Linked DNA regions of Homo sapiens: region 1 is linked to region 2. Evidence: promoter capture Hi-C in human tissues and cell types (Jung and others, 2019). All regions are on one chromosome and are shown on one strand. Each heading gives the region's core, a stretch centred on a gene start or on the middle of the fragment in contact. The rest is flanking DNA. Distances are from core to core; before and after follow the strand shown. Region 1 overlaps TMEM53 (transmembrane protein 53). Region 2 holds the start of B4GALT2 (beta-1,4-galactosyltransferase 2).

What was found. Contacts are between HindIII fragments. The study calls those that stand out against the background at their distance.
Region 1: a fragment that was not itself captured here is called in contact with the fragment with the promoter of B4GALT2 in region 2 in 1 of the 25 tissues and cell types used here (dorsolateral prefrontal cortex).

Annotation. Positions count from the first base shown.
Region 1 is chr1:44,665,683-44,671,863 of GRCh38, reverse strand. All of the region lies in intron 1 of TMEM53 (transmembrane protein 53), which reads left to right. SNORD145 (small nucleolar RNA, C/D box 145) reads left to right here and starts at 808; the gene lies at 808-907. The HindIII fragment of the contact is 3,743 bases long and covers 2,107-5,849 here.
Region 2 is chr1:43,976,215-43,982,267 of GRCh38, reverse strand. It overlaps B4GALT2 (beta-1,4-galactosyltransferase 2), which reads right to left and starts at 3,058. Exons shown (of 7, transcript NM_003780.5): 1 at 2,757-3,058; 2 at 795-1,159; 3 at 344-579. The coding sequence starts at 1,107. ATP6V0B (ATPase H+ transporting V0 subunit b) reads right to left here. Exons shown (of 8, transcript NM_004047.5): 4 at 5,889-5,966; 5 at 5,609-5,678; 6 at 5,444-5,495; 7 at 5,052-5,242; 8 at 3,973-4,287. The coding sequence ends at 4,261. RefSeq lists enhancers at 1-217, 2,582-3,173, 3,174-3,764, 3,765-4,356 and silencers at 2,685-2,794, 3,065-3,164. The HindIII fragment of the contact is 8,245 bases long and covers 1-6,053 here.

The sequences.
Region 1 (6,181 bases), core at 2,729-5,228, 690 kb before region 2:
TCCGCCTCCTGGCTTCAAGCAATTCTCCTGTTTCAGCCTCCCAAGTAGCTGGGACTACAGGCACCCGCCACCATGCCTGGCTAATTTTTGTAGTTTTAGTAGAGACAAGGTTTCACCATATTGGTTAGGCTGGTCTTGAACTCCTGACCTCAGGTGATCCACCCGCCTCAGCCTCCCAAAGTGCTGGGATTACAGGCGTGAGCCACTGTGCCCAGCCTTTAAAAACACTTTTTTTTTTCAGTTTAAAAAATTTTCATTTTCTTATATGGAGACAGAGTCTTACTGTATTGCCCAGACTGGTTTGAAACTTCTGGGCTCAAGCAGTCCTCCTATCGCAGCCTCCCAAAGTGCTGCGATTACAGGTATGAGCCACTGCACCTGGCCTGAAATTACTTTTCCCCTGTATTTGAAAAATCGAAACCACAGAGCCCATCACTGCTGTGAGCTGACAGAGAAGCTGATGCTGGCACATTAGCTAGCTGGAAGGCAGCTGCAGATCTGGGGTCATTCAGAGCCCTGGGCCTTGTAGGTCAGGCTTGGCAGCCCAACATCCTTCTGCTGGGAATCCTACCAGCCAGTACCTATTGGCTGCCCACACCGATGGTCGTCTGCCCAGGCCTTTGCTAAAGCCGGTCGTTTGACCCAGAATCTGTCTTCCCTCCTCCCTCTCTTTTTCCCAGGCCAGTGATCCCCTCAGTCTCTCAATACCCTCTCTTACTTCATTTCATTTGGGAAGGGTCTCTCCTGGGGCTCCCATAAGCACTATATTTTCCTGTTGTCGTGTTTTTGATGGCTTCACTCACTGTCACCAGGGCCTGGGAGGGATGATGTACCAAGTGAGCTGAATGGAATCACTTGGCAGCACTGTAGGCCCAAGCCAGAGCTGCTCTGACATCCCAGGCCCAGGCCGTGCCACCCCTCCTCCCATCCAGAGAATGGTCAGCCAAGTCCCACCTAGATCCCCTCTGTGACTTGCTCATAGGCCAGCAACCTTCTTAAAGGCACCGTGTGGCTCTCATGTTCAGTAAACATAAAGAAAAATTCATTCATAGAATTAATGAGTCTGGGGCCTGGTCATGGGACAAACATTTTGCTCTTAAAGTAAACAGAAGGTCTTAAGGGGATCACAGAGAGGGGAAGTGAGGGGGTTTTTGCTCCCCAGGTTTTACCGCATGCCTTTTTTGCTCATCACTGGCTGAGGTCAAAGAAATATAGACATCATTTTAACCCTCAGGAAGTTGTCTCGGACACCCAGGAGACAGTGCTGAAGGGTCTGGACCACCATGGTGGGCCCTGTGGTGGGAGAGGCTTCCTAGAGTAGAGCAGCCCAAGCTGGACCTGAAGCTTCAGGAGGGCTGACAGACCCCCATGGTGAGCAGCAGAAAGTGTGGAAGTCAAGTCCATGGCCATACCACCTTGAACATGCAGATCTCAGAAGCTAAGCAGTGTCAGGCCTGCTTGGAACTTGGATGGGAGAAAGTGCAGAAGTAAATCCCTGAAGGGGGACAGTGAGTGGCTGGAGGGAACAGGGGCCTGGCAGGAGGCCGCGCTGTGCTTTTGTGGGTGGAGAATTAGATGAAAACCTGAAGATCTGTCATGATGGACAGACCTCAAAGACCCAGGTGAAGAGAGTCGTTTGGGATTTGATCCTTGTCTTGTCTACGAGGACCCCAAAGGTCTTTTTTTTTTTTTTTAATACAGAGGAGTTGTATTTATTTTTGGAATCATGATCTCTTTTCTTTCACCTCTAGATAAGAGCCCTTTCTGGCTGGGCGTGGTGGGTCACACCTGTAACCCCAGCACTTTGGGAGGCCGAGGTTGGCGGATCACCTGAGGTCAGGAGTTCGAGACTAGCCTGACCAATATGGAGAAACCCCATCTCTACTAAAAATACAAAATTAGCCGGGTGTGGTGGCGCATGCCTATAATCTCAGCTACTCAGGAGGCTGAGGCAGGAGAATCGCTTGAACCTGGGAGGCGGAGGTTGCAGTGAGCCGAGATTGTGCCATTGCACTCCAGCCTAGGTAACGAGAGCGAAACTCCGTCTCAAAAAAAAAAAAAAAAAATAGGATGCTTTCTAAGTGTCTGCTCTATGCCAGGTGCTGGTGCTGTACTAGACCCTGGATTTGAGATCCAGGCCTCTTTGCAGGCCTCCTTTTCTCTGAATGTCTGTGGTACTTAACACTGTTAACCATGTTCTATCCACATGCCAGGCCCACCAGGAGCTCCTTTCATTATTTTATTAATCCTCACAACCACCTTGTGAAGTAGGGAGAACCCTTAATCCTGTTTTACAGATGAAGAACAGATGCTCGTGGGGAGGTAAAGTGTCTTGCCCAAAGTAATTCCAGATTTCAGCTTAAGAGCCTTACTCCAGAGCTTGTGCATGCCGAGATTTCAGTTGCCATTAGGAGGGGCTGCCTGAATACGATGCCATTTCTAGGAAACAATTAGGGACATGCACAAAGAAAGGGGTGTCCATTAAAGTATTTTTATAACAGCAAAAAATTGGAAACAGCATCATATCCAATAATGGGAGATTTGGTCACCATAAATTATGAAACATTCTATAGCCTCTCTGAAGCCACTAAAAATAATGGTGTAGAAATATATAAACTGACAGGGAAAAATGTTCACAATATATTGCCAAACGGAAGAAAGCAGATTACAAACAATATGATTCCAATTTTATTAGATATTCATTTTCTACTTTTTCTACAGTGAGTATGCATTACTTGTGAAGTAATAATAATTTCAATTTATTGAACTCTTTCCTTCTGCCAGGCACCATGATAAGCCCTCTATAGCTATTATCATATTTAATTCTTTGTATCATTGTCCCCATTTCACAGATAAGGAAATTGAAGCTTAGAGAACTTGATTAAGGTCTGTGTCATAGTTATTAAGTGGCAGAGGCAGAGATTTGAACCGAGATATGATTTTGTACAGTATGTACTCTTAGATACTATGCTACTCTGCTCTGCTCTTCTTTTAAAAAGTAAATAAAAAATAAAGTAATTTGGCCGGGTACAGTGGCTCACGCCTGTAATCCCAACACTTTGGGAGGCCGAGGGGGGTGGATTGCTTGAGCCCAAGAATTTGAGACCAGCCTGGGCAACATGGCCAAACCCTACCTCTGCAAAATAATACAAAAATTAGCTGAGCATGGTGGTGCTTGCCTATAGTCCCAGCTACTTGGGAGGCTGAGGTAGGAGGATTACCTGAGCCCAAGAGTTCGAGGCTGCAGTGAGCCATGACTACACCACTGCCCTCCAGCCTGGGCAACACAGAAAGACCTTGTCTCAAAGAAGAAAAGAAAAATTTGATTTAAATATAGGAACTGTGAGACACTAGAAAGTTTTTCTGGGGAGTAGAGAAAATTAAGACTCTTTCAATTTTTTGCATGTTATTTTATTTTTATTTTTATTTTATTTTATTTTTAAGACAGAATATCGTTCTGTCGCCCAGGCTGGAGTGCAGTGGTGCGATCTCAGCTCTGGGTTCACGCCATTCTCTTGCCTCAGCCTCCGGAGTAGCTGGGACTATAGGCGCCCGCCACCACGCTCGGCTAATTTTTTGTATTTTTAGTAGAGACGGGGTTTCACCTGTTAGCCAGGATGGTCTTGACCTCCTGACCTCATGATCCGCCCACCTCGGCCTCCCAAAGTGCTGGGATTACAGGCGTGAGCCACCAAGTCTGGCCAATTTTTTGCATTTTAAAAAGAAAACATGGTTTCTATTTTCATTCTGGCTTGCAAATAAAAAAGTACATATTGTACTGCAGACCCTTATGCCTTATCAGCCCATTCCTTTGTCTTCCCCATATGCCCCTGGGGTATACACAATCTAATTTATGCTTGAGTTTTATGGCTTGAACTGTTGTACAATATACGTATTTGTAATTCTGGCACTATCTGTGTCAGTGTTATTTGTTGAGAAATTCTAGAGGACAGGGAGCTTGTGAGATTAAATTGCTTTGTGGGGTACTCGAGAAGTGCTAGGGTTGAAAAGAATCCTTCCACATTGCTGAGGGGCTTCTGGGCATCCCTGGCCTCTTTGACTTCTCAACTGCTTTTGACTCTGCTGGACCACCTCCCCTGTTGTTTGAGATAATATTTTAACTCTCATTGCAGAAGTTATACATACTGATTTTAGAAAGTGGGAAAAAAATCATGAAAAAGAAATTGCCTCTAATCCCATAAATAATTGCTATTAATATTTGATGTATTTTTTTCTATGCATTAAAAAAAATACATGGCTGGGCGCGGTGACTCATGCCTGTAATTCCAGCACTTTGGGAGGCCGAGGTGGGCAGATCACCTGAAGTCAGGAGTTCGAGACCAGCCTGGCCAACATGGTGAAACCCCGTTTCTACTGAAACCACAAAAATTAGCCGGGCATGATGGTGGGCGCCTGTAATCCCAGCAACTAGGGAGGCTGAGGCAGGAGAATCGCTTGAACCTGGAAGGCGAAGGTTGTAGTGAGCCGAGATTGCACCATTACACTCCAGCCTGGGCGACAGAGTGAGACTGTCAAAAAAAAAAAAAACAACAAAAAAAGTGTGCGTTTGTGTAGTATGTGTGTGTATATGGGTATTCTGTTATGATATTGCTTTATAACTTGTGTTTTCACTTAATGTATTACTATTATTTTTAAAAATAATAACATTATTGAGAAATAATTCACATACCATAAAATCCACCCTTTAAAAATGTACTTCTGGCCAGGCGCGGTGGCTCATGCCTGTAATCCCAGTACTTTGGGAGGCTAAGGTGGGAGGATTGCTTGAGCCCAGGAGTTCAAGACCAGCCTGGGCAACATAGTGAGACCCTGTCTCTACAAAAAATAAAAAATTAGCCAGGTGTGGTACCATGTGCCTGTAGTCTTAGCACTCAGGAGGCTGTGATGGGAGGATCGCTTGAGCCTGGGAGGTTGAGACTGTAGTAAGCCATGATCTCACTACTGCATTCCAGCCTGGGTGACAGAGTGAGGCCCTGTCTCAAAACAAAACAAAAAAAAAAAGTACAATTCACTGGCTTTTGGTATATTCACAGAATTGTAAGAATATCACTGCCATCTAATTCCAAAACATTTTCATCATCTGAAAAAGAAACCCCATTCCTGTTAGTAGTCACTCTCCATTCCCTCCTCCCCCCAGCCCTTGGCAACCACTAATCTTTCATTCTCTGTGGATTTGCCTATTCTTGATATTTTATATAAATGAAGTCATATAATATGTGCCCCTTTGTATCTGACTTATTTCACTTAGAATGATGTTTTCAAGGTTCATCCATGCTATCACGTGTATTAGTACTTCATTCCTTTTTATGACTGAATGGTATTTAATTGTATGGATGTATCACATTTTGCTTATCTGTTCACAGATGATAGGAGGTATGTTTCCACCTTTTGGTTATTATGACTGCAATGAACATTCATGGGCAAGTTTTCATGTGGATGTATATTTTTAGCTCTCCTGGATGTATCCCTAGTAGTGAAATTGTGGGATCATGTGGTAACTCTACATTTAATTTTTTTGAGGATCTGCCATACTGTTTTCCAAAGTGGCTGCACCATTATGCATTTCCACCAGCAGTGTATGAGGGTCCTGGTTTCATCCACAACCAACACTTGTTTATTATCTGACTTTTTAATTATAGCCATCCTGGGTATAAAGAGATACCTCATAGTGGCTTTGATTTTGATTTCCCTAATGGCTATGATGTTGAGCATGTTTTTATGTGCTTATTGGCCATTTGTAAATCTTCTTTGGAGAAAGACCTGCTTAATATATTCAGGTCCTTTGCCAATTTTTGAGTTGGGTTTACTTTTTGCTGTTGAGTTTTAGGAGTTTTCTCTGTATTCTGGATATTACTCCCTTATCAGATACATGATTTGCAAATATTTTCTCCATGCTGTGGGGTTTTTCTTTTTTTCACTTTTTTTGGATTATGTCCTTTGAAATAAAAAGTTTTTATTTTGATGAAGTCTCAATTTATCTCTTTTGTTTGTTTGTTCCTTGTACTTTTGGTGGCATGTCTATGAAACTGCTACTTAATCCAAAGATTTACTCATATGTTCTCGTCTAACAGTTTTGTAGTTTCAGCTCTTACATTTATGTCTATGATCTGCTTAATGTATTATTGAATATTTCTCCATGATTTAACGTTTTTCTTTCTTA
Region 2 (6,053 bases), core at 1,809-4,308:
AGGGTTCTACAGGCTTCATCCTTCTTTCAGGGTCTAACTCCCTCTCCTCAGGGCCCTCAACATCTCCTCCTACAGCATACCCAAGGCCTGCACCACCATGGGGTGAGGCCTGCCAAGGGTAGAGAGTGGGGCTCAACCCCTTCTGAGACCATGCACACACCTGCCAGTGTGCATGCCAACATTCACATGCACACACTGTGCGTACACATTCCTGTGCACACTGACAAACACCGACTACCCACGCCCAGGTCCATCCACATATCCACACGGGCAGACAAGGACCCACAAACGCCCCCAACCCACATATATACACCAACAGGCACATGGACCCCCGCATGGGCACCTGGTTGATGACATAGACGCCGTAGCGCAGCCGCTGCCGCCTCAAGATGGGGTGTAGATAGTGGAGCCAGTAGCGCAGGTGGTGTTCCCGGTGTCTAAAGGGGATGATGACCGCCACCGTCTGGGCTGGGGTGCAGTCGGGCGGTGTGTATCGGCCGCCCATGAGCACGCCTGGGTTCTCCCTCTGCACCCGCTCCAGGGGCATGGGTGAGGTGAACTCGATCAGCAGTCTGCCCACTGCAGACAGGACAGTGTCAGGAATCAGGGCATTGGCCAGAATCCACAGATACCAGCCCCCACCCTCAGCCTGGGGGTGGGCTAGGGAACCCCAAGAATAGCCCTCTTACAACAGACCTGGACCCCTGGCACACCCCTGGGTCCAGATGCCATTTCTCTAGTCAAACCAATAAAACCCTGTTTCCCCACAGGCAGGCCCTACCCTCCAGGCTCACCAAGACCAGGTGGCGAGTCAGGACAGGGTGGCAGCGTGGGAGCCGTGGGACCGGGCAGGGCACTGGGGACCTCAGGGAGCCCGGAGCTAGAGGCGGTGGCGTTGGGCCGGGAGCAGTTGCTGCTGCTGCTGCTGCTGCTAGCAGCTGGGTGGAGGGCATGGGCAGGGCCTCGGGCACTGAAGCGGCTGAAGAAGGCCAGGTGCTGGGCGTAGACGTCAAAGTAGAGGATGACGGCCACGAGGAAGTGCAGCAGGCAGAGAAGGAGCACAGCCTTGCAGACGCGCTCCAGCGTCCCCCCCAGCAGTCTGCTCATCCCGCAGGCGGCCACTGGCCCGCCCAGTGGGCCCGGGCATCCGGCTGCTGGCCTGAGCAGGGTGGGAGGGAAACAGATCCAGCAGGTCAGGGCAGGACAGGCAAGGCTGCCCACCTACCTCCCACTCAGCTGCTCACACTCGTGGGCCACACCTCACACTGACCTGCTCATACCCTTTCACACTCACAGACTCAAGAATTTACCTCCAAACAGACACCCAGGCACAGTTCCCGGCAACTCAGTACTCACATCCTCAAGCACACCCCACTACTAAGCCACATACATTTACCTTCCTCCACCTCACTGACACACACACTCAGGCACTCACCCTTATTGCACAACTCTACACACACACTCACGCATTCCCAGGAACACAGACACGTGAACTCTAACCACACTGGTTTGTACCTAAGCATGGAGACATGTTTACCTATAGACCCCCATGTGCCCCTGTGCCCCTGAGAACAGACACCTCACATGGCAGCATCCTTAACCCAGAACTCATGGCTTGGGGAAGAGGGAAGAGACGGAATACTGTGCACCTACCATGCAGGAGCACTTTATACTCATGACTTCATTTAGTCCTTCCAGGAGCCATGGTGGGAAGTGGTTTGGTCATTCAGATCCCAGCGACAAGCAGGCCAGGCCAACTGGGACCAGGCTGGGAAGTTGCCCTCAGCATCCGGGGGGCCCAAATACAGACTGGATGTTTACAGAATCCCTTCCCACTGGAGCAAAACGTCAAAATACGGGGCAAGGCAGGGGACACCCCTCACTTAAGACCTCAAAGCCAGCCCCTTGGGACTGGGACCAAGACTCTGGGTCCTGCCCAGCACAGCTGGTTCTGATTCCCGGAACGGGATGCTTGGGCCTGGAGATGGGCACAGCACTGGGCATGGCAGGAAGGGGGTCTTGCCTGGGCGATGGCTCCAGCTGTGGTTCCAAGAGAGCGGCAGCCACTTCTGGCAGTGCTTCAGGGAGCAGGGTGAGTCTCACAGGCACACAGAATCACAGGGACACCCTGGTCCCAGCTGGTCACCCACACTCAGACACACAGAGAACTACAGTCACAGACACACCCGGGTGACAGTAACACACTAAGTCCCACACTCACAAACAAGGCCACTGCTCCTGGACTTCCACAGCCATACATCCAGACTCTCAGACAGCTCACACCCAGACCCACGTGCAGACATTCCCACCCTCCCTCCGGCGCAGGGGTTCTGGGTCAGGCTGGCGGCCAGGCTGAGGGGTGCGTTTGGGCGGGGCTGGCAGGCTGAACACGTGGCACCCGCGGACGGGCAGGCCGCACAGACCGGGTGGGTGTGGAGCCTGGGGGCAGGGGGAGTGGGTGGAGGGCAGCGGATGAGGCAAAGGCCAAGGGGAAACGTGTATGGAACGCCTCCCCGCGCCACGAGGCCGGGGCGAGCGAGGACAATGAGGGAGGCCGGCTGGACGCGGGCGGAGAAGCCCAGGAGGGGCGCCGGAGTGGGGGCGGGGTGGGGGCAGCCAGGCCGGGGTCTGGCCGCCGGCGCCTCTCTCACCGGCTCCTGGGTTGGGATCTCGGGGCCGCGCTCGGGGTGCCCCTCGCGGGGCTGGGTCTGGAATCTCGGGGCCCTGGGTGGGGGCCGCGCGCGCCCTCCTCTCACCCGGCGCTCGGGGCTCAGCAGGGGACGCCGCTCCGACTTGGGCAGGGCTCCCGGCTCCGGCGGCTGCGGACGGTTCCGTCCCCCATGGCCCGGCCCCGCCGCCTCCCGCCGCCCGGTCAGCGGCCACCGCGGCCCCCGGGTCGCCTCCCGCCGCCGCCGCCGCCGCCGCCGCCGCGGGCCATGGAGCCGAGCCGCCCCGGGGGGCAGGGCGGGGCCGGGCGGCCGGGCAGACCCACGGACCGGCGGACCCACGGACCACAGCGCCGCCGCCTCCCTCCCGCGCTACGGCGCCTCGGAGGGGCAGGCCCGGCCCGCGCGCCCGCGCGCGCGCCCCCGCGGCCCCCGCCTCCAGCACGCCCGCACCCGCCGCGCGCCGCTGCGAGCCCGCCCTGCCGGCGGCCGAACCCGGGCACCCAGGAGGCACGGACCTGGGAGCGCGGGAGGAAATGGGTCAGGCTCGTCCAAAGGGTGGGCTTAGAGGTCGGACCGGCGAGCGGGTGCAGACCGTGGAGTCCCTTAGCGGGGAGTGGGGATTGCATTGGAGCGCGAACTCCCCAGGAAGGGGACCTGGAGGTTGGGCGGACTCAGGCTGCGGGGCTAGGGATTTGTCAACTCTTTAATTGGACCAAGATTCAAGGTCGGCCAGCAGAGAGGGGGCAGGACCCTTAAAGGCGTGGGCTGGAGGTGGCTGGGGCTTCTGGGGTAACAGGAAACAGGGTCAGGGAAGGAGAAAACGAGATTGGATGGGGTGGGAGGAGCTGCCCTGGGCCCTGGGAACAAGGATCAGAGTAGAGGTTTCTGGGAGGGGCTGCTGCTAGAAGGACAGGACCATCACTGGAGGCAGAGACCACTGCCTAGGCTCCAGGCCTCACAAGGACGGAGATGATGGTGCCCGACTGTACAACCAGGTAAGTAGATGCTGTCAGACAATTCGGGCATGGTGGTCAGTCAGAGCCCTGAGCAAACGGGCCTAGAAGGACTACAGGCACAAACACACCCAGGGGCCCCTATCTGCACACTCCCTCATCCCCAAACAAGTCTGTTTGGGGGTTAGAGTCCACCCAGCACCCGTGCCTCCCCACCTAGGAGCAAGCTCTGTGCAGATCAGAAGTGTGCAGTCAGAAAGCTGACAAGGGATTGGCATGAGGCTGAGGCGTACAGGCCTCTTTACCCTTCCTCTGTGAACGGTGACGCAAGAGGGCAACAGAAGCTGCACTGACCCAGACAAATACCAAGTTTATTTCACAAACACTAGGAAGATGGGTTGAGGGTGGAGGTGGGGGACACAGGTGCGCAGCTGCACAGAGTCAGCAGCAGCAGCCTGCTCCCCGCACTGAGGACTCGGCCTGGACTGCAGTGCCTCCAAATCAACACGCAGCAAGAGGGGAGTGCAGGGAGGGCCCTGAACACCAAGCCTCTGAAAGGCTAAGGGACACAGCTCCAGCTGTCCCAGGAAAACCAGCAATAAATAAAAGTGAGGCACGGCCCCACCCACACATATCATCTAGTCACCCATCTTCACTCTGGAGGTCTGCAAAAAAAGAACAGGAGAAATCAGGCAGGGACAGAGGAATAGGTAAGGCAGTGACAAATGATAGAAGATGACATCTAGCACATGGTTGGATGGACAGACCACAAGAGATATATGACTAACCAGGATGGACACACTGTGACAGACAAGGCAGACAGGGACAGACAACCACAGAGTTACGCTGTGGGACAGACGGAGAGAAGTGGCATATGGATAAAGCTAGTCACTAAGAATCAACTCAGTCAAGCACCCACAGTCACACTCAGACCCTCAGGCTGATCCTTAGTCACAAACTCACACACTGTCAGACAGACTAGACACACACAATTTAGACAATGGTGTCCTACTGACAGGCATGTGAGAGGGAGATACACATAGCTCCGAGAGACAGTCAAACACACCATGACAGACTGATATAGACAGACAAAATTCCATTCTAGTCTAGATCACAAATACAGACTGGAGACATGAAAAGCATGGCAGATAAAATGAGAGAACAGAAAGAGGGAGGACTAAGTGCTATACAGATACAACGCATTAGAAAGGGGGGAAAAAGAACAGGGCTGTTGTCAGTGACACCAAATCAGAGACAAAAATAGAGAGCCCCTGTAGGAGAAAACCAGAAGATGGAAATGAGGAGGTGGAAGCTGTTTGGGGGAATCTATAGTTATAGGTAGAGAAGGAGAGCACTTCAGCTTCTCCAGAAGGAGGGTAAGGCTAGGTTGGGGACAAGGACACAGAGGCTTCCCAAGGGGATTCATCACCTGAAGAATTGCGACGATGACCCCAAAGAGGCCAATGGCGCTGCCAAAGATCTCCACGATGAGAATCTTTACAAAGAGGCTGGGGTTCTGAGCATCGGCCAGGGCAGCCCCACTGCCCACGATGCCCACGCAGACTCCACAGAAGAGGTTAGACAGGCCTACGGTGAGGCCAGCCCCAAACATGGAGTAGCCTGGGAGGATAGAGAGGGGTGCAGTGAGGCTAAGCCAGGAATGGGGGAGATATGGGCTAATGGGGCCAATCACCATCCCCACTCTGCAAAGCAGAAAAAGTAGGTGAGAGAATATCAAAATGATGGCCCAAGCTGGGATGGGGGAGAGTGGAAGCAGGCATGAAGTCCCAGCATTTTGCATTCATACGCCCATCCACCCACCTGCATGGTAGTTCCGATGGCCGATGGCCTTGGGGTCTGTGGCACTGAAAGGCTGAGGGAAGAAGAAAAGTAATCAGAAACCATCCTGATGCACCCCATCCAATCTCTAAGGAATGTGTAGAACACACTGGAATGGATTCCCGCCACCACCCTGGCCTTCCATACCTCAGCCATGTTGCTAATGACAATTGCCATGATGATGCCGTAGATGGCCACAGCCTCACAGAAGATGATGCTGGTAGTGGTAGAGATTAGGGGTAAGGAGTGGAAAGGAGAAAGAAATGAGAAAGAAACCGTCCTTCCTGCCCAGTAAGTCCCCAGCAATCTTTCCCCTATAACATCCCATCCCACAAGGTGGCTTGTCAGAAACAGTATGTCAGATCAAACACACAGGCAGCGCCAACACAGCTGGTTCTGACAAAAGTCCAAGGACCCTGACACTTACCTGACCAGGTTCTTGGTCTTGATCCTGGGGGCCTTCACTCCTCCACCAATGATGGAGGAGCCGGTAATATAGATGCCCCTGGTGGAAGGATAAAAAACTGATGAGCAGAGCCCAAGCTGTCACTGCCCTCAGCATGCCTAAGACCCCAGTGACACCACCTGCCAT